3 separate regions of the Homo sapiens genome follow, and regions 1 and 3 are each linked to region 2. Evidence: promoter capture Hi-C in human tissues and cell types (Jung and others, 2019). All regions are on one chromosome and are shown on one strand. The core of a region is centred on a gene start or on the middle of the fragment in contact, and the rest is flanking DNA. Distances in the headings are between cores, read along the strand shown.

Region 1 (3,410 bases), core at 267-2,766, 460 kb after region 2:
TGCCTCCCTTCGGTCCCTGCCTCCCACCGCTCCAGCTGCAGGGGGAGGGGGTCCCGCGGGGCCGATAATTTTCCCCCATTAATCAGGCCGCAGCTAATTGTTCGGGTCCAAAGGCGCGGCGGAAGGGGACGGGATCGGTAAGGAATTAACTGGGGCCCATCGCTCAGCGCAGACAGGCCCCTTTGTCAGGACTGGCCGGCGGGGGCGGCGCGGGCTGCGGAGTCGGCGGGCCGAGGCGGGAGTTGATTCTTTTCCCGCCCGTCATCCCCCAGCCTTGGGCAGCCACCCGGGGGCTGCTGCTTAGGGGAGGCCGGCTCTTCAGCACTGTCCGAAAGTCCTTCCTGCGGTCTACCCCAGGGGACAGCAAACTAAAGTTTGCAGGCCAAACCCAGCTGCCTGCAAGATAAGAATGGTTTTTACTTGTTTAAATAGTTGGGGGACAAAATTTAAAGATGAATAACATCTCCAGACTGGTGAAATTCGAATTTCAGAGTCTATATTATTGGAACACAGCCGCATCCATTCCTTCAGGTATTCTCTATGGCCGCCTTTAGGCTACAATGACAGCGTTGAGTAGTTGTGACAGAGACCATTTAGCCATCTGGCCTTTTACAGAACTTTGCCCCCCCCCGTTCTAGCCTCCTGTCCTTCTTGCTAAAACAGAGACCCTGGGGTTCTGTGGGCTCCGCCCAAGTCTCCCTCTTTCCCGCCCTCCCCGGGGCTCCCGTCCTGTATCAGTCCCTGGGGATGCTGCAGACAGGGTCTTCGTCTCAGTGTCCTGACGGCAGCCCGCTCCCCACCAGGGACGCCAGTGAACCGCGTGCCCATCATGGCGAAGCAGGTGCTCGACCTGTACGCTCTGTTTCGCCTGGTGACCGCCAAGGGCGGCCTGGTGGAAGTCATCAACCGCAAAGTGTGGCGGGAAGTCACGCGCGGCCTCAGCCTACCCACCACCATCACCTCGGCCGCCTTCACTCTACGCACCCAGTGAGGCCAGGGGCGGGAGCGGAAGGGAAGGGGGCACGGGTTCGGCCTGGGGCGGGAGGGGGGAGGGTCCCCGGGCGGGCGTCCGGCTGTGGGACTTGACCAGCTGGGTGCAGCCTCCCATACACTCACCGCCCGCTGTCCGCCCCTAGGTACATGAAGTACCTGTACCCGTACGAGTGCGAGACTCGAGCGCTCAGCTCCCCAGGGGAGCTCCAGGCCGCCATAGACAGCAATCGGCGCGAGGGCCGTCGCCAGGCTTACACCGCTACTCCGCTCTTCGGCTTGGCAGGGCCGCCCCCTCGGGGCGCTCAGGACCCAGCCTTGGGTCCCGGCCCCGCCCCTCCGGCGACCCAGTCCAGCCCTGGCCCAGCCCAGGGTTCCACCTCCGGCCTGCCAGCGCATGCATGCGCTCAGCTGAGTCCAAGCCCTATTAAGAAAGGTGCGAGGGGAGAATGGTAGAGGTTTCGGGGTCTCTGAGGTTTAGGTGGGCGCTAAGATATAGCAACCATTAAAATGTGAGGATTGAGGTCTGGGGAGGCATTGAGGTATGGGAGCAGTAAGGTCTGACGGGCTTCTGAGGTTTGGGGGTCACTAAGGTTTAGGGGTCCTGAGGTTTGCGGCCAAATGAGAGCTCTGGGGTACGGGTTACTGAAGTGTAGGGGCTGAAGTTCAGGAAAAGGTCCTTTTTTTTCTTTTTTTCTTTTTTTTTTTTTTTTGTGAGACGGAGTCTCGTTCCGTCGCCCAGGCTGGAGTGCAGTGGCGCGATCTCAGCTCACGGCAACCTCCGCCTCCCGGGTTCAAGCGATTCTCCTGCCTCAGCCTCCCGAGTAGCTGGGACTACAGGGGCCCGCCACCATGCCCGGCTAATTTTTGTATTTTTAGTAGAGACGGGGTTTCACCGTGTTAGCCAGGATGGTCTCGATCTCCTGACCACGTGATCCGCCCTCCTCCGCTTCCCAAAGTGTTGGGATTACAGGCTGAGTCACCGCGCCCGGCCAGGAAAAGGTCCTTTAATCACAGCAACTCCATTCCACACATGTCCACCCAGTGCTCCTATTTGCATATAGTTTGTGCCTCTTGTGACCTGGATTATTTAATAACCAACAGCCAAAAACAATCCCCCAAATTGTCTAGACATGTACCTTGATCCTTTGGGCTCTAGAGAAAAGCTTCAGCGCTTCCAGGCTGAGGCTCTGGATGGGAAGATAGATCGAATGAAGGATGAGAGATTGGTACATGAGCTTGAGTTACCTCTTTTGGTCCCAGGCCTGGGGGAGAACCAATGCAGAGATGGGTTGGTTTGGCCAGGGGAGCTGAATAACCTGTTCTTCTAGAGGAGAGTGGAATTCCAAACCCTTGTCTGGCACTGCCTGTGGGCCTGGCACTGGGACCTACACGGGAGAAATTGGCACCAGAGGAGCCCCCAGAGAAGAGAGCTGTGCTGATGGGGCCTATGGACCCACCTCGACCTTGCATGCCCCCCAGTTTCCTGCCCCGTGGCAAGGTTCCCCTGAGGGGTGAGGAGGGGCTTGTTGTGAGGGGGCTTCGGGACTGTACACTGAGGGAGGATTGACCCATCACCTGATAGGTGTTAGAGACGGGGCAGACAGATTCCTCTGTAGACAACTGTGTGAGTATAGGTGTGGGGCTGAAGTGGAATGGGGGCTGTCTACGGGGATGGAGGGGGGAAATTCTATTAATAAGTCAGAAGTCTGATTCTCCAAAATGTGATTCCTCTGCCCCCTCCTGGACAGAAGAGCGGCTGGATGGGCCTCTTAATCTGGCAGGCAGTGGCATCAGCAGTATCAACATGGCCCTAGAGATCAACGGGGTGGTCTACACTGGTATGGGTACTGCAGGCTGTCTACACTGGCATGGGGTCAGGGGTATTTAGGCTGGCATGGGGATTTTAGACTTCCTCTACTAGCATGAAGTTCAGGGATATCTAAACTTGCATGAGTAACATGGAGTTCAGGGGATTGCTAGACTGGCATGGGTTAAAGGGGGTGTCTACATGGCATGGGATCCAAGGCATGACCTCTCTGGCATGAGTACCAGGGGATGTCTGCCTTGTCTTGGGCCTATGTATCAGCATAAATATTCCTTGTTTACCTGTTTGAGGTATCTACATTAGCAATGGAGTCTCTTACTGACCCAAGGAGCTTGTCCTCATTGGTTTGTGGCAGGGGTACGTGTGTAGTGTTCTAGCAACCAGAACACTTACTTTTGTTCCCCTCTTCTGTTTCCATACCCTACCCCCTCCTGCTTGTTTTTGCCCTCTACCATCTCCTCACCCCTTTGCCAGGTGTCCTCTTTGCCCGCCGCCAGCCTGTGCCAGCTTCCCAGGGTCCAACCAACCCTGCACCCCCACCCTCCACAGGGCCCCCTTCCAGCATCTTGCCCTGAGAGGTCCTACTTGAAAC
Region 2 (3,409 bases), core at 910-3,409:
AGTAGAGACGAGGTTTCACCAAGTTGGCCATGCTGGTCTTGAACTCCTGACCTCAAGTGATCCATCCACCTCAGCCTCCCAAAGTGCTGGGATTACAGGCATAACATGGCCCGGCCCTGGCCATGTTTTTAACTGTGTTTCTCTAATAGCTAATAATGCCGAGCATCTTTTTATGTGTTTCTTAGCCATTAGTAGATCTTTTTTGGTAAAATGTCTTTTTTTTTTTTTTTGGTCCATCTTAAAATTGTTTTTTGTTTTGTTTTGAGACAGGGTCTCACTTTGTTGCCCACGCTGGAGTGCAGTGGCTCAATCATGGCTCACTGCAGCTTCGACATCCCTGAGCTCAGGTGATCCTCCCACCTAAGTTTCCCGAGTAGATGGGACTACAGGTGTGTGCCACCATGCCCAGCTAATTTTTGTATTTTTTTTGTAGAGGTGGGGTTTTGCTATGTTGCCCAGGCAGGTCTTAAACTTCTGAGGCTCAAATGATCCTCCCACCTCAGCCTCCCAAAGTGCTGGGATAACAGGCATGAACCACCACACCCAGCTAAGATTGTTTTTAAAAATCTTTTTCTTGAGTTTTGGGAGTTTTTATGTGTTAGGGATACCAGTCCCTTATGAGGTATATAATTAGCAAGTAGTTTCTCCCACTCTGTGACTGTGACCTTTCTTTTTTTGAGGCAGGGTCTCACTCTGTTACTCAGGCTGGAGGGCAGTGGTGTGATCATGGCTCACTGCAACCTGGAACTCCTAGGCTCAAGGGCTCCTCCCACCTCAGCCTCCCAAGTAGCTGGGTCTACAGGTGTGTTATTGTGCCAGGGTTAATGTTTTAAATTTTTTGTAGAGATAATGTCTCTACAAAAGACACCATCTTTGTTGCCTAGGCTGGTCTTGAACTCCTGGCTTCAGGGAATCCTCCAGCCTCAGCCTCCCAAAGTGCTGGGATTACAGCATGAGCCACATCCAGCCTATGATTTTTCTTCTTTTCTTTTCTTTTCTTTTCTTTTTTTTTTGAGATGGAGTCTCGCTGTTGCGCAGGCTGGAGTGCAGTGGGGCGATCTCGGCTCACTGCAGGCTCTGGCCCGCGGGGTTCACGCCTTTCTCCTGCCTCAGCCTCCCGAGTAGCTGGGACTACAGGCGCCCGCCACATCGCCCGGCTAATTTTTTGTATTTTTAGTAGAGACGGGGTTTCACCGTGTTAGCCATGATGGTCTCGATCTCCTGACCTCGTGATCCGCCCGCCTCGGTCTCCCAAAGTGCTGGGATCACAGGCGTGAGCCACGGCGCCCGGCCCCAGCGTATGACTTCTTAATGATGTCTTTGTAGTACAAGAGTTTTTAATTTTAATAAAGTTAACTTTTTTTTAAATTGTACAAGCTTTTAGTGCTGTGTCTAACAACTTGTTGCCAAACCCAAGGTCATAAAGCTGTTCTCTTACGTTTTCTTTTTTTTTTTTTTTTGAGACGGAGTCTCACTCTGTCACCCAGGCTGGAGTGCAATGGCACGATGTCGGCTCACTGCAACCTCCGCCACCCGGGTTCAAGCGATTCTTCCGCCTCAGCCTCCGGGGTAGCTGGGATTACAGGCGCACGACACCACGCCCTGCTAATTTTTGTATTTTTGTAGAGAAGGTTTCACCATGTTAGTTAGGCTGCTTTACGTTTTCTTTTAGAAGTTTTATATTTTTGGCTCTTATATTTAGTTTGTGATCCATTGAGTTGATTTTATGTACGTATGTATGGTCGCGTTCTTTTCTTTCCTGTCTTTTTTTTTTTTTTTTTTTGCATATGGATATTCAATTCTCCTAGCTCCATTTAATTTGAAATGATTGGGCAGGTACTTTTGAGCAGTGCAAGTACAGAGCGGCACTGCCAGCAGACTACACGCGGTAGAAAGCCGACCTTGGTGAGCGTGTTGGTGCTCGACAGTGAGCAGAGAAAGGATGGACGATTACGGAGCGCCCTCGTCTCCAGTTACCGCTTTCTGGAAACACCATCCGCCGGGGCGGAGCTGTTCCGCCCCGGTGCGGTACTACGACTCCCAGCATGCACCTCGCAGTCGGCCCTCGGTGGAAGCGGGAACCCAGGAGGACCTGGGGGTGTGGCAGCGAGGAAGGGCCGAGCCACGGACTGTGGGGCCGAAACTCGCTCCCGCCCACCCTTTCTCGAGGCTGTGGCCTCCGCGAGAGCCGAGCGGGCCGCACCGCCGGCCGTGCGACTGCCCCAGTCAGACACGACCCCGGCTTCTAGCCCGCCTAAGCCTGTTTGGGGTTGCTGACTCGTTTCCTCCCCGAGTTTCCCGCGGGAACTAACTCTTCAAGAGGACCAACCGCAGCCCAGAGCTTCGCAGACCCGGCCAACCAGAGGCGAGGTTGAGAGCCCGGCGGGCCGCGGGGAGAGAGCGTCCCATCTGTCCTGGAAAGCCTGGGCGGGTGGATTGGGACCCCGAGAGAAGCAGGGGAGCTCGGCGGGGTGCAGAAGTGCCCAGGCCCCTCCCCGCTGGGGTTGGGAGCTTGGGCAGGCCAGCTTCACCCTTCCTAAGTCCGCTTCTGGTCTCCGGGCCCAGCCTCGGCCACCATGTCCCGCCAGACCACCTCTGTGGGCTCCAGCTGCCTGGACCTGTGGAGGGAAAAGAATGACCGGCTCGTTCGACAGGCCAAGGTAACACGGTTGCTGGCACCCTCGGTTTGCAGCCTCAAGATCCCTGAAAGCGGGTTTGCAGTGGATTTACCCCAACCGATGGGGAGGGACTGAGCTTGACCAAAGAGCCAGAAATGACTGGAGAATGCATCCCTTGCCACTGCTGCAAGGGGAGAAAAAAGGATTGATCCTCAGTGACAACCCCTCCCTCATGTGGCAGGTGGCTCAGAACTCCGGTCTGACTCTGAGGCGACAGCAGTTGGCTCAGGATGCACTGGAAGGGCTCAGAGGGCTCCTCCATAGTCTGCAAGGTAGGCGGGTCCTCCCCAGGATGGTCAGTTCCCCTCTTCCATAGCCAGAGAAACATCCGCTCCTGCGTTTTTGGGATCGATATAATTACTCGGGGCAGGGAGTCCTGTTTAAGGCACAGAGGAGACTGGAGTGGAATCATCTTTGTACAGGCAAATCCCTCTCTTCCTTACACACTCACAGAGTGGCATTTGAAAAATGGTTTCCAAGATGGTCTGATCTGGATAACTTTTTTGCCCTTTCCAGACTCTCTGTCCAAAGGTTGGGTTCTTTTTTTAAATCCTTAGCTAATTGGCTGGAGGGTGGGTTCTTTATTGTAGCTGTTTTGGTTGGAGTGGGGTGATCTCTGAGTTGGGATTTTATTTGGAGGATCTTCCATGGGGGAGCAGTCTGTAAGACCAACATTGTTGCTCCAGGGCTCCCTGCAGCTGTTCCTGTTCTTCCCTTGGAGCTGACTGTCA
Region 3 (3,634 bases), core at 697-3,196, 420 kb after region 2:
ATACCCCAACTTTTGGCTCCTCCAGTCTGATCCCAAGTTTAGAGATCCTTGGCATCAGCCTACCTAGAAGTTCTTGCTCCCTCCCTAGGAGAGTCCAAGGGCCACTGCTCTTTGCCGCCCCCTTCTGTCACCCAATCAGCCTGGGACCCACTAACTCCTCAAGTGGTGAGAATCAGGGACTGCTATGTGGGCCTGCCTTCAGTTAGGGACTGGACCCAGCACCAGAAAGGGCACCACAAGATTAAGTTAAAGAAAGAGATGGCCCAGTTTCTGGCTGGGGCCAAAGCTACAGCAGATTGTGGCTGGGGAGAAGACTTGGTCTTAAAGGGGAGAGATGGGTGCACACCCAAAAGCATTTGTTTTCTGCCTTCCGAAGACTTCTGGACCGACAAGCCCAGGGAAGACCAGAAAGTATGTAGCGCACAGCCAAGTGATGAAGAAGGTCTATGACAAGCCCGAGGAACCTGGGAGATTTCCTTGGGATTTCCTCAGTGGCTACACCCAACAAGCCTTGGGACACAAGAGAAAGGCCTAAGCCCTATCCCAAGAGAAAGCCTACTCCATAGAGAGTGGCTGACCCTACAGCAGACGACTGCAACAAGATAAGGGCTGGATTACTGTGTTATGACTTGGTTTATGTTTCAAATATAGAGCAGGACTTGCAGATTGAGATCCCTGGACCAGGAGTGGGAAATTCTTAAAGGAGCCAGGGGCACTGAACTTGGCAGCATACCCCCACCCTAGGCAGCTCCCAGCTTCCTGGAAAGGACTGGATAAAGATGAATAGGAGCTTTGCATTGCAGGGAGGGGGTAAAGAACGGAGTGACAGCTGGGTATGGGATTAGGAGAGAAGCGGCTATAGCTGGAGGGTGGGATGCAGGGGGTATAGCAGTTGGACATGAGGGTGTGACTGAACCCGGGTAGGGAGAGGGGATGTTCCTCCAGGCCCAGGAAGGAGGCTGGAATTTGAGTAAAACAAAGATGTAATTGAGTGCTTGAGTCCAATGTCTTCAACAAGTCAGGGACTGGATCTGGAGACCCTAGGCCCCTGCTGGCAAGAGGTTGGCATTCCTGGAACAGGACTAGACAAAAACAGGAAGGTAAGATTCACTGGGCCTTTTACCTGTTTTGACAACAGTAACCTAGCACCAAAGAGCTTTTATCTTCCCTCCTTATCTACCCCACCTTTCCTCCCTGTCTCATCATCCTGGGGAAAGCTGCCCCACCTCAGCATCTCCAAAACACCCTTAATATTACCATAAAGGGCCTTCCCCCAGCTTCTCTGAATGGGGCTGGCCTCAGCCAAGAACCCTCCTCAGCCAGAAGGGCCTGCTCTAGGGACCCATTCCCATCCATTTCTTCTGATAAGACAGGCAGGCCAAGCCAGGAAGTGGGGAGGAGAAGGTGAAGGCAAGTTGGTGCTTGCCTGCCCTCTGCTCCCACCCCACCCACAACTCCCCTGTCAGAATCTGTGTGTGCTAGTGTGAATTTGCTTGTGATTGGATGACTGTGAAAACACAATTGGGTGGGAGAGGGACTTTGAGTATAACCGGGGCTATATAATTTTGTCTACGGTTGTCTGATCATGAGTATGACTTTGTGAGGTTGACCAAGTGATTGAGGAGTGACTTTGAATGTGTGGCTATGCGTATTTGAGTGTGAATGTCTATCATTAGATGCTGCTGTGGATGCTTGACTGCCCTTACTCACTGTTCCATCAGTCCCTACATCACACACTAATCCTTCCCCCAGCTTCACTGCCCAGAGCTTAGGAGCACATGGGAAATGGCTATCCTAGATGAGGAAGGAGTCTGTGGCAACAGGCCGAGAATTAGGGCCCAGGAGTGTCACAGGTTACACAGTACATCTCCAACTGCCTCTGACTCACCTAGTGCCCCAGGTAAAAGGCACCCAGATAAAAGGTAGGGGAGGAGGAGAGAGAGAGAAGGAAGAGTCTAGGCTGAGCAACATGAAGGGGCCCCCAACCTTCTGCAGCCTCCTGCTGCTGTCATTGCTCCTGAGCCCAGACCCTACAGCAGGTGAGTACTTGGGGGTATAGAAAGCTGGGGGTCTGGGTGAATGGGATGAAGTTGAAAAGACCCAGGAAATCCAACCTAACCTCCAGCTGTCTGGCAGAGAGGTTCTTGGTCAGGATCCCTCTGAACACATGGCCCTGTTGCCCCTAGCATTCCTACTGCCACCCAGCACTGCCTGCTGTACTCAGCTCTACCGAAAGCCACTCTCAGACAAGCTACTGAGGAAGGTCATCCAGGTGGAACTGCAGGAGGCTGACGGGGACTGTCACCTCCAGGCTTTCGTGTGAGCTCCCACCCCTGATACCCCTGACTCTGACCTCAGTCCCAACCCCTAATGCTGATCCCAACCCCAGCCCTAACTGCTAATTCTGTTGCCAACTCAGGTTTTCATCTGGTCCTTGCTCCTAACCCCTAATTAGGGTCATTGGGGATGACCCTAATCTCATCCCCAAGCTATGGTCATAGCTTTGGACCTTTCTCTACCCAGGCTTCACCTGGCTCAACGCAGCATCTGCATCCACCCCCAGAACCCCAGCCTGTCACAGTGGTTTGAGCACCAAGAGAGAAAGCTCCATGGGACTCTGCCCAAGCTGAATTTTGGGATGCTAAGGAAAATGGGCTGAAGCCCCCAATAGCCAAATAATAAAGCAGCATTGGATAATAATTTCTGAGTATAATCTCCAAGAACTTCCTTATTCTCTTTATTCACACCTGCACAACCCCTGCAAGGGGAAAGGCCAAGAGCCAAGGACCCACACACACTCCCCAGGCACCTACATACATGCATGCAGAGAATACATGTTCCCTGCCTCACAGACACATGGTCACACATGGACACAGATGTACACATTACACACGTTCCTTGAGCAGAACTCCAACTCTGGGGTGAAATCAGAGGTACAAGCACCTTTCAGCTGCAAATTTGAAATACAGGGTCTCACAGAAATGGGCTCCAAACAGAACTTCCAGCTGAGATCCAACCATAGGGATCTACTGTCCTGCCTGGTTTCTATCCACACCAGCAAGACAGAATTATAGGTGGAATCTGCCGAAGCCCTCCTGGGTCCTCTACAGGTTTGGAGCTCCTAGAAGAAGCAGGAGGCAAATCAGGAGAGACAGTAAGACCGGATCTTGGCCCAGACACCCTGAGAATGAGGGAGGTGACTCAGTTCTAAGCTTAACACTCTGAAGATGAGTAGAGGAGCCCAGCTCTGAGGGAGCCTCTTCAACACACTGAAGATACGGGAGTGGACCTAGCTCTGGGCCCAGGCACATTAAGAATGAAGGAGGGGACCTAGCACTGATCCAAGACACCTTGAAAAAAAAGGATGAATATCCAGCTCTGAGTCTAATACCCTGGAAGAGTATTAGTACTAATACTAATACCCTGAAGGGAAGTCCACCTGGGGTCCTTCCTCAGTACCCTGAGAGGAGGGAAAGAGACCCACTTCTGAGCCCAGGGACTCAAGAATGAAAGGCCCAGCCCTCAGCCTAGACATCATTAAAATGAGGAGACCCAACTTGGATTCCCAGCATGTTTTAAAATGACTAGGGCAGCCAGCTCTTAATCTGGACACTCAAAATAGGGGCAAACATCT

The links. Contacts are between HindIII fragments. The study calls those that stand out against the background at their distance.
Region 1: a contact is called between a fragment that was not itself captured here and the fragment with the promoter of FANCG in region 2, in 1 of the 25 tissues and cell types used here (dorsolateral prefrontal cortex).
Region 3: a contact is called between the fragment with the promoter of CCL27 here and the fragment with the promoter of FANCG in region 2, in 1 of the 25 tissues and cell types used here (dorsolateral prefrontal cortex).

What each region holds. Positions count from the first base shown.
Region 1 is chr9:34,621,441-34,624,850 of GRCh38, reverse strand. It overlaps ARID3C (AT-rich interaction domain 3C), which reads left to right. Exons shown (of 8, transcript NM_001017363.4): 4 at 804-987; 5 at 1,137-1,426; 6 at 2,322-2,504; 7 at 2,742-2,831; 8 at 3,293-3,410. The coding sequence ends at 3,393. Among named protein-coding and RNA genes, the nearest start is that of DCTN3, 2.7 kb to the right of the region's middle. RefSeq lists an enhancer at 109-657. The HindIII fragment of the contact is 5,541 bases long and covers 1-3,410 here.
Region 2 is chr9:35,078,692-35,082,100 of GRCh38, reverse strand. It overlaps FANCG (FA complementation group G), which reads left to right and starts at 2,159. Exons shown (of 14, transcript NM_004629.2): 1 at 2,159-2,660; 2 at 2,860-2,950; 3 at 3,365-3,409. The coding sequence starts at 2,577. RefSeq lists enhancers at 707-1,313, 2,530-3,137 and a silencer at 2,289-2,454. The HindIII fragment of the contact is 6,213 bases long and covers 1-3,409 here.
Region 3 is chr9:34,660,969-34,664,602 of GRCh38, reverse strand. CCL27 (C-C motif chemokine ligand 27) reads left to right here and starts at 1,946. Exons shown (of 3, transcript NM_006664.4): 1 at 1,946-2,039; 2 at 2,187-2,319; 3 at 2,524-2,713. The coding sequence starts at 1,970. The coding sequence ends at 2,659. It overlaps IL11RA (interleukin 11 receptor subunit alpha), which reads right to left. Exons shown (of 13, transcript NM_001142784.3): 13 at 2,701-3,121. The coding sequence ends at 3,105. LOC730098 reads left to right here. Exons shown (of 3, transcript NM_001320038.2): 3 at 1-440. The HindIII fragment of the contact is 14,352 bases long and covers 1-3,634 here.